2 separate regions of the Homo sapiens genome follow, and region 1 is linked to region 2. Evidence: promoter capture Hi-C in human tissues and cell types (Jung and others, 2019). All regions are on one chromosome and are shown on one strand. The core of a region is centred on a gene start or on the middle of the fragment in contact, and the rest is flanking DNA. Distances in the headings are between cores, read along the strand shown.

What was found. Contacts are between HindIII fragments. The study calls those that stand out against the background at their distance.
Region 1: a fragment that was not itself captured here is called in contact with the fragment with the promoter of KCTD18 in region 2 in 3 of the 25 tissues and cell types used here (dorsolateral prefrontal cortex, liver and mesenchymal stem cells).

What each region holds. Positions count from the first base shown.
Region 1 is chr2:199,991,588-199,995,973 of GRCh38, forward strand. All of the region lies in intron 2 of LOC124906112 (a long non-coding RNA gene), which reads right to left. Among named protein-coding and RNA genes, the nearest start is that of MAIP1, 38 kb to the left of the region's middle. The HindIII fragment of the contact is 6,803 bases long and covers 1-4,386 here.
Region 2 is chr2:200,508,464-200,512,765 of GRCh38, forward strand. KCTD18 (potassium channel tetramerization domain containing 18) reads right to left here and starts at 1,605. Exons shown (of 7, transcript NM_152387.4): 1 at 1,165-1,605. RefSeq lists a silencer at 1,378-1,837. The HindIII fragment of the contact is 9,187 bases long and covers 1-4,302 here.

The sequences.
Region 1 (4,386 bases), core at 1,311-3,810, 520 kb before region 2:
GGCCTCCCAAAGTGTTGGGATTACAGGTGTGAGCCACTGAGCCCAGCCCAAAAGGACTGCTAAGATATTTAATATTAAAATTTAAAGTTGTTTATTTCCTAGTGTTGTGGTATAGACACTATGGCCCCTGGCTGCCTCTTTGTCCCCAGCAATGCTCCAACACTTGAAGAAAGACTGGTCTATACTCAAATGTCTGATCGGTGATATCTGGGGCCAATAAAAAAGAGAAAGACTCATCTGGGTCATGTTGGAGCAGAAAGCTAAGAACAGCTGCATGAGATGAGATGTGAATGAGACTGAAAATTTACAGGGGCAGCAAATTAAAACCACAAGTGCTCATGAGAGTTTAAGACACCAGGCATTCACAAACATCCTGAGGAGGGTATTGCACTTTTGCAGGAAAGGGAGTTCTTCTCAACTATATGTAAATAGCAAAGAACGGGTACCTCTGCTGATCATCTGAGTTGCTTAACATTCAAATGACTGTGAAGGTAGGCCCAGACATCTCAAGAATCCACATGCTACTTCATATGTGGAGAACATTTGAGCCATTCATTCATTATTCAATAAGTATAGAGCCACTTCTACATACCAGACCTAGCAAGATATGATGGCAAACAAGATGGCCACAGTCCCTGACTTCATGGAGTTTACATTAGTGAGGGGGGAGTAGGGAGAAAAATGGGGAGAGATGATAAACATTTAAATACATAAATGGTCAGAATAATGATGGATTTTATGCAATATTAAAAATGGGGTGACGTAATAAAAAATACCAAAGTGGGTCATTTTAGGTAGAGTAGTCACTGAGGTCTCTTGAGGAAGTGACTCTTAAGGCCTAAAGACTTAGAAAGAATCCTCCACACAGCAAGCAAAGGGAAAAACACTCCGGGCAGAAGCCATAGCAGGCACAAAGGCCCTGAGGCAGAAAGAGACTGGAAAATCTCTGGAATCCATGGAAGGCCAATGACTAAAGACTAAAACTTCACGAGAAGGTTGGGAAGGGTCATGAGATGAGGTTTAAGGGTTAGACCATGGCCAGTAAAGGCTCTGAAGGCCAAGAAATGAAGTTTGGATGTCCTTTTAAGCCCAATGGGAAGACTAAAGAATTTTAAGCAAACCAATGACATCATCTGGTCCAAAGAATTCCCTGGATTGTCAGTATGGAGATGGTTGGAGGTCTTGACTAGAACAGTTTCAGCAGAGCAAAGGGAATGGAAACTGGATTGGATTGTGCTGTGGAGTGAATAGGAGTGAGAAGGTGGAGACAGTGTGCTCACAATCCTTCTAAGAGGTTTTGAGAAATGGGATAGCGGTTGGAGGGTAACGTGGGGTCAGGAGAGGGTCTTTATTTTTGTTTTGGTGTTTTCCTAAATGGGAAATAATACAGTATGTTTACATATGATGTCAGGAGTGATTCAGTCCAGAGGGAAGCAATGAAAAAGGAGAAGGTATAACTAGGGAGACAGCATGAAGGACTGAGACTTGAGCCCAAGCAGAGTTGCCTTTGGGAGCACCTCCTGCTCTGGTGGGAGGAAGAAGAAGATAGGCAGATGTAGGTCTTACCACATTTGTTTTACTGAGGAAGCAAGATTTCTTTCCGCCACTGCAAGGCTTCCAATGTTAACTGAACTCGGCGCAGCCGGGCTGCTCTGTGCCTGCTGATGTGATTGGCCAAGAGACTGATGAGAAGGGAATGAGAGGGTTTGAGCTGTAAACAGAAGCCACAGCCAAGAAGGAAAGTTCGGGTCTCTCCATTTAATTCCCCCATCCTGTTCTGATCCAGAGAAGATTTTGGTCATTTTCAATTCAGTAGTTTAGACTTTCATGGAGTGGTCCAGAGGGCCCTCAGGCTCAGAGGACAATGAGGCTTGAGGACAGCATGTATCTACAACTGTGGATAGACTGACACCCTGGACTGGCCAAGCCCAGGTCATCTGGGCTGAGGTAGCATTTAGCTAGCAAGCAATTTTTTGTGGTAAGAGAAATTAAAGACTTCCTCCATAAGTCTCTCTGTGGAAGGGGGAAATTGACGAGGGTCAGGCAGCTGTTAAAGGACATCCTGTAACTGCTGAGAACAGAATTGGATAAGGGTAGGGTTCTACCAGAGAGTCAGGAACAGCAAGAGAAGGGAAAGTAGAGAAGGGGACTGGGGGTGGGCAAGGATTCTTAGATATAAGGTTTTAATGACACGTCCTACTTGTGATTCAGTGTTCCCAGCAGAGGAGATGGAAGGAAATTATAGCTTGTGTGCCTGAAGGGCTGGAACTGAACTAGGATTTTATGCATATGATATTACTTAAGCCTCACAGAAATCCTGTGAGGTAGTTTTCTCCCCCTTTAATTTTACAGGTAGGCAAATGGAGGCTCAGAAAGTTAATGTGCTTAAAACTACATAACTAGTAAATAGCAGATGCAGAATTTTAGCCTGGATCTGCCTGACTCCAAATCCCATGGATTGGCCAGAATGGTGTTCTCCCTTCCTGGGCCTCCGGCGAGTGGTAACAGGTCAAAAAACAGATCAACTAGAAAGTTCTTCTGGTAAAATAGTGGGTGAGGCAAGTTAGTGCTAGGATTTGGCTGGAGTGATGGCTTTGCTGCCTCTTCAAGGAATTCACAATGCCATCTTTTCTTCCCTAGACTGTTGTGTGACAGCATTCCAAAGACTTTCCTCAATGGACACCACAGAAGTCCTTGAGTTTGAGGGGCTTCAGGAAGGAAGAGAACAGAATCTCATAGGGAAGACTCCTCTATGAAAAAAAGACCCCTTAAAGTCTGCTTTCCCCCATCATTTCAACATCCTCTCCCTCCCCAACTTTACCATATTGGGCTGAGAGGCTTTAAAACCACACTTCCACCCAGCTGGGCTGGGTTAAAGCCCTCACAGGAGCCACTGAGCCAAACCAAACTTCATGTGCATTACCCATGCAGAGCACATCCTCCAGTGTTTACATGTTGAATAGTTTATGATTTGCTCTACATCTGATCAGGCAGAGTCAACTACCAAAACTGCTGATCCATGGAACTTCACAGCCTTTCCGGGCATAATAACGGCTACAGCTACAGCTTATTCAAAGAGAGAAATAGCCTTTGATGAGCTGTGCAAGGACAAATTAAGACGTGACTGTCACCCAGCATCTAGATAGTAGCCTGCTGTTCCAGGCTTTACCCAAAAAGAAATGGGACTAAGGGAGCTGGGAGGCTTCGACCACACCCTCCTAATAGCAGTGGAAGGACCAGGACCTAAAGATGACCATACCACCAAGGATTTCAGAGCATCAGAAGCGAAACAGCATGTTGCTAAGGCAATTCTTTCTGTCATCTCTGCTCTTCCAACCTGTGGCAAAGCCAGATAATTGTCCCTAAGTTCCCATTATCTACTTCTTTAGTAATAGAAACCCTAATATTTAGCTAGGAATGTCCGGGGTGGGGGGTGGATTCTCCTTGGCTGAAATAAACTCTGTATTTCCCAGCCTCTTCCAGTTGGGTGTGGTCATGTATCTAAGTTCTAGACAATGAGATGAAAATAGAACTGCCATGTAAAATTTCTGAGAAATGGCCTTAAGAGGTATTAAATCAAGGTTAGCCTAAGGGTGCCTCCTTACATATTTTAAGTTCAGCCTAAAAGTTTCTCTGTACATCGTGAACTGTACTCTAAATGAAGTTGTAAACAGAATGTAACCTACTCTTGTGCCAATCACCAAGTTTTGGCCAATCAAAGGTGGTCAGCTGTTCAAACCATGTTCAAATAAGGCAAACTCTGAGCTGTAACCAATCTGGCTGTTTCTGTACTTCTATTTTCTGTAAATCACTTTCCTTTTTCTGTCTATAAATCTTCTCCACCATGTGGCTGCACTGCACTGGAGTCTCTGAGCCTACTCTGGCTCAGGAGTCTGCCCAATTCAGGAACTGTTCTTTGCTCAATTAAATTCTTTTAAATTTAATTTGGCTGAAGTTTTTCTTTTAACAAGGGAGAGGTGTATATTTCGCTCTTCTTTCCCACTGGCTGGAATGTGGAAGTGATGACTGGAGCTTCAGCAACTACCTTGAACAGTGAGGTGGAAATTATTATTCAGAATAGATGGAAAATACTATTCAGATACAGGGAGCCTGGATCCTTAGAGATTGTAGCATCATGATTGCAGCCTGAACTGCCACTATAAGCCATTTATATCTTTTGGCACTCACTGTCAACTCTAATCTATCTTATATACAACCTCTACCTTAGGCACCTCCACATGTCCCTAATGACCCCTGGAAAGCCACGTCTCACTAAAACATCCTTACCAAGACAGGGAGAGGCAACAACCTTTGCATTGTGAGGAGCAGTGATTTCGGGCACTGAGAAGCTGTGCTGCCTTTAAACAACTCTATACCATCATCAGC
Region 2 (4,302 bases), core at 355-2,854:
TTCCCACCTAAAACAATACTGTGATGAAAAAGGTACTCCCAATTATTGAGAATCTGCAGTATCCACACATTTCATAGCAAGTTGAAAATGGCTGCCAAAAGGCTCAACTACATCCATGTCAATTCACTTTTACTCAGTGAACAACTAAGATCGTTTTGTAGATGCCAGCTAGTCTCCAATAAAATGGAAGGAGACCATTAAAATCTGAGGAAGACCATGTGTGTAGAATACGGTCAGCAACAGAAACCATTATGGGCCAAAGGTCCAGCCTTCCAAAACCACTTATGGATGTGACATCTCGCACTGCCTAGAAGTCCTGGGAGCAGCACTCCAAAGATCCATGTGTGAGAGCCACCTCTGAGGCATGGGATGGAACTTGTTCCCTCTGCCTCATTACTGGCTCCCTGGAATCCTATCTATTCTTCAAGGCCTTCAGCAAACCTAATTTCTTGCATGACCGTCCCACGTATCCTTCTGCCCCCCAAGTTAGAATCCTTGCACAATTCTACAAATATACTGTGTGTCTGTCCACTTTTTACCCCACTTGTTTAATCCCTACTTTTTGGTCTGTAGGCCAAGGAAGCCAGGGCCTGTGTCACTCTTAATAACTCCCATTTACTGAATGCTTATTATGTGCCAGCCATTGTAAGAGACACTTGACACACTTTACCTAATTCACACAAAAACTCTATTGGATGGGAATTACTGTCCCTGTTGACAGATGAGGCCATTGGGGTAAAAAAAAAGAGTGATGTGTACAGGGGCCACACAAGGACTGACTGCTAGTAGGTTGTGGAGCCAGCCCCAATCCAGAACGGCAGGACGAACCCCAAGTTCTTCCTGCTTCACCCCACACCGCCTCCTCCAGCACTGTTTCACCCCTATGGATCCTGACCCAGCCCTTTCACTCTCTAAGCATCTGTCCATCTCAAGACTTGGCTACGATAACACAGCAGCACCCCGATCCCGAGGATTTAAGAGCTACTCCTCCTACCCCAACCCCAGGCAGTCTCTCCTAAGGATAGGAACATCATCATTCCAAGGCCACACCAGGGGGGCACTCCGCAGGCCCCATCCTCAAAAGCACCCAGTTAGGCTCCCTGCTATGTGGAAAGTGTCCAGCCCTCGGGGACAATGTCCCCCAGAGTGCATTCCTATGATCACCTGCATCAAAACCATCAGGGACGCTTGGGAAAACGAAGACACTCCGGCCACAGCACACAGTTCCTCAGAAAGTCTGAGGAGGGGTCGGGATCTGCCCGCGAACCCCACTTTGAAAAACATCGCTCAAGGGGCTCACACTCCTCTTCCGAAGCGGGAAGAGCCGGGAGGAGCTGGGGAGCCAGAAAGCCCCGCCACGGTCTTCCGCGGCCTGGAGACCCCAAATCGGCCCGAAGCCCGAGCCTGCAGCCCGGGGCGCGCGCGTTACCAGCGCGGCCCGTGCCCTTCCTCAGGGCGCCCCGCCGCCTTCCGGGCCCGCGGCCCATCCCGCGCCCGGCTCTTCCGCACCGGGGGGGTGGGGCGGGTCGGCAGCTTCCCAGACTGACCTGCGGCCCGCCAGACCCTCGGCGCGGCCGCCGGACGCCGCGGGGCGGACGCGGAAGTGAACGCCTTCTCAGCTGCTCGGCAACTCGGGAGCAGAGCGGCCCCAGCGGCGCCCCCGTGCGGCCCGGCTCTGAGGCAGCGGCTCAGGGAGGGAGGGAGGCCACGTCCCGGGCACGCCACGCCACGCCACGCCCCGCCCCCAGATTCGTCTCGCCCCAGTGGGCCGCCTCGGAGTCGGGTGGGTCTTCCATCCCGGAGGTAAGGGAAACACACGGTAGAGAAGGCCAGGGCTGAACCCCAAGGGACGGTCTTGTGTGTTCAGAGGCTGGTTTTACAGGTGAAGAGAAGAAACAGCCGCAGAAGTTGCGATTGTCCAAGGTCACTTAATAAGTGGCAAGAATTAGGATGTTAAGTGTTCTCACCCCCAGGTCAGTGCCCATCCCTCCAAACAGGGCTGCTCAGTGCCAACGTGTGTTAATATATTGCACTTGGATAAGTCTATCTGGATAGTGTCTGCAGCTTACAAAGCTTTTTCACACACAGCATTCTTGTTTAGTCTGTGTGACAGTGATATAAAGGGTGATATTTATTTCCCATTATAGCAAGGAAAATTGAGGCGAGAGCAAACATTTATTCAACACTTTTGTACACCTGACACTGTGCTAAGTGCTTTGCATGCACTACTTAATTTCCTGTTAACGATAACCCTAAAACAGTTCTTCCAGTTTCTAGCACCATCTTACCTTGTGCAAGGTACTGTGCTAGATATTTCAAGAGAAATATAACAGTCCTGTTTTCAAGGTGCTTCCCCAAAATCAAAAATATTTGGTTCCAAATTTCCCTGACTGGCTCTTAGAAGAGAATAAGCCAAAGAGAGGTAAGTCAACCTATCCCCTTAGATATTAACAGTCTTAGGAGAGAGGGAAGGTTTGTTCAACCTGTAATTATTAAGCACTAGCTATGGAGCAAGCACTGAGAGTAAAGGACTGGAAGAGACAAATAATGGGCGTTCAACCTTACTTTCCAGTACAACATGCAGAAAACTTGTTCTGTAAATATTTTAGGCTTTGTGGGCCATGCACAACTACTCAACTCAGCAGTTGTAGTCTAAAAGAAGGCATAGGCAAAACCTGAACAAATGAGCATTGCTAGTTCCAACTTTATGGACACTGAAATTCCAATTTCACATAATTTTCATGTGTCAAAAAATATTCTTTTAAAAATGCAGCTTTTTCAAACACTTAAATATGTACAAGCCATTCTTAGATCATGGGCCAGACAAAAACAAATGGTGGTCCATGGGCCATAGTTTGCCTGCCCTTGTTCAAGTGGGAGAAACAGACACTAAGCAAAGTGGTGACAGAGAGTGATAACTAGGTGCGAGGAAATGAGTGGACATTTAAGTTGAGGGCTAGGAGTCAGAATGAGTCCACCTTCTGCAGAGATGGAGGAAGGGTATTTTAGGAAGAAGGGAGAGCAAGTCGGAAGCCCCTCAGGCAGGAAAGGACTCAGCAATTTGTAGGAAGAGAAAGGCCACTAGTATGTCTGAGCCTTGGTGGGCATCAGGACAAAGGGGAAGATGAGATGGGATGAGGTTGAAGAGAGAGGCAAGAGCCCAGACTCTAAAGTATTGTGTGGCCATGGTAGAAATTTAATTTGACTGTAAGCATAATGAGAAGCTATTGAAAGGTTTTAAGCAGGGAAGTGACACAATTGATTTACTATTAAAAAAAAATAATCACTGCAGCTACTGAGATGAGAATGGATTGGAAAGGTGTGAGATGGAAGTAGATGACTATTGCAATAATCCAGGGGAGAAATGTCTTAGTTCCTCCTTGAGTAGTGTTGGCAATAAAGAGAAGTGGATGGATGCAAGAGGGGTACTCAGGAGATAGACATGACATAAAATTTGTTGGTGGATCAAATACAATGTGTTAATATGGATCCCCTGAGAAGCAAACAATATTATCAGATTAGACATGTGAGAGATTTATTGAAGGGAACACCTGTGAGGTAATAACAGGGAAGCATCTGAGGGGAATTAGGAAAGACATTAGACAGTTTCAACCCTTGTGGAGAACAGGAAAGGAAAAGTAGGAAAAGTTGTAGATATGATACAGTTCTGAGAAAGTTTCAGCACAGCCAGTGGAAAGCCTTCAAGCCAAAGTCCCCCATATCAGAAGAGTTCTGTGTCTCCCAGGAATGGGCCTGCCTTAAATCCCTCTGCTCAGTCACTGGCTGGGAGCAGTCAGTGGGCAGTGCAGCCTGGTGATAAATTTCAAAGGACAGCAGCTGAGGCATCAGTCAACAATGCTCCCTGCAATTGGAGATCTGAGAAGTGCATTTTCATGGCTGCAATATATGGGATTTAAGGGAAAGGGAAAAATGTAGGAATATCTCTAAATTGTTAATTTGAACAATGGGATAATAGTGAGTTTACCGAGTCAGTGAATTATGGGAGAGGAATAGGTTTGAGGGAAGAAATCAGAAGCTGTGTTTTGGACTACTAAGATTCAGATGCTTTTCAGACATTCAGGTAGAGAGATCAATTAGCAATTGAATAAATCTGGAGCTCAGGGGTAAAATTCTGTGTTGAAGGTGGATATTTGGAAAGCATAAGCATTTAAAGCTATGAGAGTGAATGAAACCATCTGCAGAAAGGGCAGATAAATGAGAAGAGACAACATGAAGCATTGACTTCAGCATTTAGAAGTCAGGCTTACAAGGAAGAGCCAAGAGGAAGGAGGGGAGTCAGGA